Regions from separate parts of the Homo sapiens genome. Here region 1 is linked to region 2. Evidence: promoter capture Hi-C in human tissues and cell types (Jung and others, 2019). All regions are on one chromosome and are shown on one strand. The core of a region is centred on a gene start or on the middle of the fragment in contact, and the rest is flanking DNA. Distances in the headings are between cores, read along the strand shown. Region 1 overlaps LOC105372505 (a long non-coding RNA gene). Region 2 holds the start of TMC2 (transmembrane channel like 2).

Region 1 (2,860 bases), core at 48-2,547, 110 kb after region 2:
TGGCTATTGATAGGGGACCTTGGTTACTCTCCATGTAGGCCTCTCCATAGAGCTGCTTGGGTGTCCTCACAACATGGCTGCTGGTTTCCCCCAGAGCAAGTGATCTGAGAGGGAGAGCAAGGAGGAAGCCACAATGCCTATTATGACCTAGTCTCAGAAGTCACACTATCAGTTCCACCACTTTTACTCATAGAACTGAGTCACTAAGTCTAGCTCACACTGGAAGGGAAGGGATTTAGGCTTCACTTCTTGAAGGGAGGGTTACCAAAGAATTTGTGGACATATTTTAACAGAAAATTTTCTAATTCAAATAATTACAAGACCTCTATCAAGACAACTCTGGCCAGGCGTGGTGGCTCATGCCTGTAATCCCAGCACTTTGGGAGGCCGAGGTGGGTGGATCACTTGAGGTCAGAAGTTTGAGACCAGCCTGGCCAACATGGTGAAACCTCGTCTCTACTAAAAATACAAAAATTAACCAGGTGTGGTGGTGCGCTTCTGTAATCCCAGCTACTTGGGAGGCTGAGGCAGGAGAATCGCTTGAACCCAGGAGGCGGAGGTTGCAGTGAGCCGAGATTGTACCACTGTACTCCAGCTTGGGTGACAGAGCAAGACTCCGTCTGAAAAGAAAAGAAAAAAAAGAAAGAAGAAAATTAACCATTTATCCAGAGAAATATAACTGGTGTCCTGCTGATATTACCCTAGTTTGGCTGCGCATTCCTAACTGGAGAGAAATGGAGCAGATGCTGGATTTTATCTGTTGGAAGCTATTTTTGTAGGCTGATCCTTTCACTTCTAATAACTTCAACTTCCATTTCTATTTCCTAAGAGCTCCATAGTACACAGAATCACATAAGTAGGAAGACACTTTAGATGAAGAAGATCAAAGGGGATACCTGGTCTCCCACTGATTTGCACACTCGCAGAAACTAAGGGGAGGGGCTGATGCACCAGCCAGTAAGGTGATCTGGGCAGGTTACCAATAGCACTCACTATGGTGGTAACGCTCAGCTCAGTAAAGTCACTTCAGACGTGCTCTGAAGTGGGTGGGTAGAGACCCACCCAAAGCTGGAGCACCAAGTTCCTCATGCTCAATAATGGACAATAAAAAATAAACCCGCCATGCAGAAAGAGACATGTATTTCTCTTGACCTTGGCAGAAAGTAGAGGAGAAAAAGTCTCCATTGAGAAGTTCTAGCCACAAGGCAGCTCTCACAGAGAGGCTCTAAATTCATATGCTACAGTTGACCCTTGAACAACACTGGGTCTAGGAGTGCTGACCCCCCTGCAGTCAAAAACCCATGTATAGCTTTTGACTTCCCCAGAAGTTAACTAATGGTAGTCTGCTGTTGAATGGAAGTTTTACTGATAACATAAAGTCAGTTAACACAAATTTTATATGTTACATGTATTAATACTGTATTCTTGCAATAGAATAAGCTAGCTAGGAAAAAATGTTATTAAGAAGATCATGAAGAGGAGAAAATATATTTAATATTCATCAAGCAAAAGTGGATCATCGTAAGTCTTCATCCTTGTCATCTTCATGCTGAGTAGGCTGAGGAGGAGGAGGAGGAGGAAGAAAAGGGGTCGGTCTTGCTGTCTTAGGGGTGGCAGAGATGGAAGAAAATCACATATAAGTGGATCTGTGAAGTTCAAACCCATGTTGTTCAAGGGTCAACTGTATCTGTATGTTCCAAAAAACTCAAATGAAAATTTTAATTTATTTTTTTCAAGACTTTCAGGCCAGGCGTGATGGCTCACACCTGTAATCCCAGCACTTTGGAAGGCCAAGACGGGTGGATCACAAGGTCAAGAGGCCGAGACCATCCTGTCCAACATGGTGAAACCCCGTCTCTACCAAAAATTCAAAAATCAGCTGGGCATGTTGGCTCATGCCTGTAATCCCAGCCACTCGAGAGGCTGAGGCAGGAGAATCGCTTGAACCCGGGAGGCGGAGGTTGTGGTGAGCCGAGATTGTACCATTGCACTCCAGTCTGGGCAACAAGAGCAAAACCCCATCTCAGAAAAGAAAAAAAAAAGTGGCATTAGGTTGATAGTGCCTCCAAAACAGGAAGAAAAAAGGCAAATAAACAAAAATAGCACAACAAATAAAATATAAAGCACATAAGACGAAAGAAATAAACCAAAATATATCAGGAATCAAAATAAATGCAAACGGACTAAACTTCTAGATAGAAGGCAAAGACTATCTGATGGAGATTTTAAAATCCTATAAGCTGTTCCCAAGAGATGACTTTAAAACTAAGGATAGAGGCCAGGCATGGTGGCTCATGCCTGTAATCCTAGCATTTTGGAGGCTGAGGCAAGTGGATTGCTTGAGCCCAGGAGTTCGAGACCAGCCTGGGCAAAATGGTGATACCCCATTTCTACAAAAAATACAAAAATTAGCCAGTGCATGCCTGTAGTTCCAACTACTCGGAAGGCTGAGATGGAAAGGATCGCTTGAGCCCAGGAGTCAGAGGTTGCAGTGAGCCGAGACCACACCACTGCACTACAGCCTGGGTGACAAAGTGAGGGACCCTGTCTCAAAAACAAAAATAAGATAGGAACTTTATCCCTTTTGATTCCTAGGGAATAAAAACTGAAGTATAATTTTCAATGGCAAAATCACCAGGTGTGTGAGTACCATCAAATATTCTAAGCAGGTTTGTTTATAGAGTGTGAGGATTGCTATTAAAGACAACTGTCTGCAGTGTTGTGCCAGATACTTTATCTTTCAATATAGTATTAGCTTGAAAAACATGAAGAAAGGCCCAAGGTCATAGTTGGGGTAGATGTGGTATATAGAGCATACAGATAACTCTATCACTGAACCGCGTCTGGAAAATGGGCTATA
Region 2 (2,700 bases), core at 186-2,685:
CAGACACATCCCACCACGCCCGGCTAATTTTTGCATTTTTAGTAGAGATGGGGTTTCACCATGTTGGCCAGACTGGTCCGGAACTCCCAACCCTAGGTGATCCGTCTGCCTTGGCCTCCCAAAATTCTGGGATTACAGGCGTGAACCACCACGCCCAGCCACAGACCGCTTTTCAGAACATAGACATTAAATCCATAAAATAAAACACTAGGATTACAAAGGAGACCAATGATCCTGAAATAGGCATCAAAATCACTTTAAATATCTTTCATATAATGACAATATATGCTTCCTAATTAAATAACAAGATTTCATGGCAGGTCTCTAACTATCATAATTTTGAAGTTGTGATAACATGTAAGATATTTTGAGACATCCCCAGTGGTTTAATTGGGAAAAAAAATAACTGTGACTTTTGCTGAGACAAAAATCACATCTTTGCTTACATTCATGATTGAGGGAAATGCTAAATCGCAGTTAAGGCTAGGAAAAGTGAAAGTGTAGTATTTTCTCCATCACTATTCACAAACCCACAGAATTCCATCCACAGCTCTGGGGGTTCCAGGGACTCCAGATTAAGAACTCCACACTCTGAGACCTTATGACTGCCTTCCAGAGGGTCCCTCTGACACTTTAGTGATGGTTTTCAAAGCAGCCAAATCTGTGCCTCCCTGAAGCCAGGGAGGAAAAGCTGCTGAGGGAGGGGGCGGGGGCTGAGCGGGAACATTCATCTGTGTGGGCTCAGGACGCCTGCAGCAGGATCCACAGTGCAGGCTCCCAGGGCCTGGCACAGACTGACTGATTCCAACGCCCAGTGCCACTCCTGGGAGTATGCATTTTATTTTTAAAAATTTATTATTATTATTTTTCTTTTTGTGGAGATGGGGTCTCACTACGTTGCACAGGCTGGTCTTGAGCTCTTGGGCTCAAGCAATCCTCCTGCCTCTGCCTTCCTAAGTGCTGAGATTACAGGTGTGAACCACCACATGCCAGAATCTGCATTTTAAACAGAAGCCCAAGTAATAACTTAAACAAACATTCTAGAATTTCCCTGGTGCTTTGTCCCAATCAGGGACTCAAGATAGTGGGAGAGGGCCTGGGATGCTCCTCACACCTCCTCTGGCTAGAGTGCCAGCGGCATCATTGCCAGGAGATAAGCCTGCAGCTCCTGGCCCCTCCAGGGCCCCTCATGTATAACTGATGCCTGAAACATGAGGCCATGCTGCCTCTTTGCAGGGAAACCTGAGAAGAGGAGTGTGTGGCCGGATTGATGGGCCGGGAACTCGTCGCCTTCCTTCACCCGTCTCTCTCCCCCAAACTTCACCCACCTCCACATTCAATCTCAAACCAAGAAGCCCCGCCTGCTGTCAGGTCTAGGAAGGGAGGCCAGCCACCATGAGGGCAGGAAAGCAGCCCAGGCTGAAGGCGTGCATACAGGAGCACGCTGCGTGAGCCTGTGCAGGACCCCAGCAGTGCTGCTGACCATGAGCCACCAGGTAAAGGGCCTGAAAGAGGAAGGTGAGTCCACGTCCTGATCCTGCGGGGCCCGCCCACAGGGTTCCTGGGCAGCAGCAGGGGATGGGGGAAGCACATATGGTGTTCAGAGGCATAGGGAGGAGCTGGGTTTGAGTCCAGGGCCTGTCCCCTGTGCGCTGAGCGACCTCGGCTGGTTATTCAACCTCTCTGATCCTCACGCATGAGATGGGGGTAGTCATCACCTCCTTGCAGGGCTACTGGAAGGATTCAAGACAACCTGTGCACAGCACCTGTGTTCAGGCCAGCACTGGAGACTGTCACGGCCGATGCATGCTCCTCAGAGCCTGCTGGGGCGTCTCAGCCACCTATTGTCTCGGTTAGGGTTGCCTGTTCCGAGCAAGCCCCTCAGCAGATTTCTATCTGTCTCTGTCTCTGTGCAGGGCAGGGGGTGGGGGATGTTCTGACCTCATGACTGACAGTATCAGACAAATGTGACAGGCAGGGGACTCTATAATTTGCTGAGTAAAATCATTGGAGCTGGGTCCCAGTTTGAGGCAGCCACAAATCAGCTGAGGGGTCCCACAGTGACCGGGGGTCTGCAGGGAGGGGGACTCACCAGAGGCCAGCCATTTGTCAGCAATCCTGTCTCTTACAGCACGAGGCGGAGTGAAAGGGCGGGTGAAGAGCGGCTCTCCACACACAGGTGAGATGGGGTGGTGGGGTCTCTGGGGAGCCTGCAGTGCCTGGGTGCCCTCTGCTTAGCCCAACAGTCCAGCCACCCATCCAACATTCTCCTTCATCTCCTTCCCTCTCATTCAACACCCTGCATGGAGCCTTCCTGGGAGGCAAGGTGTTTAACATGGGAGGGGGCAGAGTACCACTCAGAGAAGGTGCTGCTCAGCCCTCGGTGTCAGGGGAGACTCCCAGGGTTAGTGACACTCTGAGCTGAGCCTTGGGAAGCAGTGAACATTCACCAGACAGAGGGCAGGGAAGCTCGGTGCAGGCTTCTGGCGGGTGGTGTGGCCAGATTCACATCCAGGCCCCCGGACTCTAGGAGGAACACTCTTAACCTCCAAAAAGTAGTAGGCATAATGGGTGCTCCATCACCTTCCCACTGGGAATGTGACCACAGCTCTCCCGTGAGCCGGTGAGGGAGCCAACTTGCTCCAGGAGAAGTGGGAGAGCCCAAGGAAGCCATAGGCGGGAGAGAAAACCCTTGGTTGA

What was found. Contacts are between HindIII fragments. The study calls those that stand out against the background at their distance.
Region 1: a contact is called between a fragment that was not itself captured here and the fragment with the promoter of TMC2 in region 2, in 9 of the 25 tissues and cell types used here (H1 embryonic stem cells, dorsolateral prefrontal cortex, heart left ventricle and 6 more).

Annotation. Positions count from the first base shown.
Region 1 is chr20:2,643,762-2,646,621 of GRCh38, forward strand. LOC105372505 (a long non-coding RNA gene) reads right to left here. Exons shown (of 5, transcript XR_007067502.1): 2 at 1-620. Among named protein-coding and RNA genes, the nearest start is that of NOP56, 7.4 kb to the right of the region's middle. The HindIII fragment of the contact is 9,020 bases long and covers 1-2,860 here.
Region 2 is chr20:2,535,138-2,537,837 of GRCh38, forward strand. It overlaps TMC2 (transmembrane channel like 2), which reads left to right and starts at 1,436. Exons shown (of 20, transcript NM_080751.3): 1 at 1,436-1,518; 2 at 2,132-2,179. The coding sequence starts at 1,485. The region is part of intron 2 of LOC105372504 (a long non-coding RNA gene); the gene reads right to left. The HindIII fragment of the contact is 10,824 bases long and covers 1-2,700 here.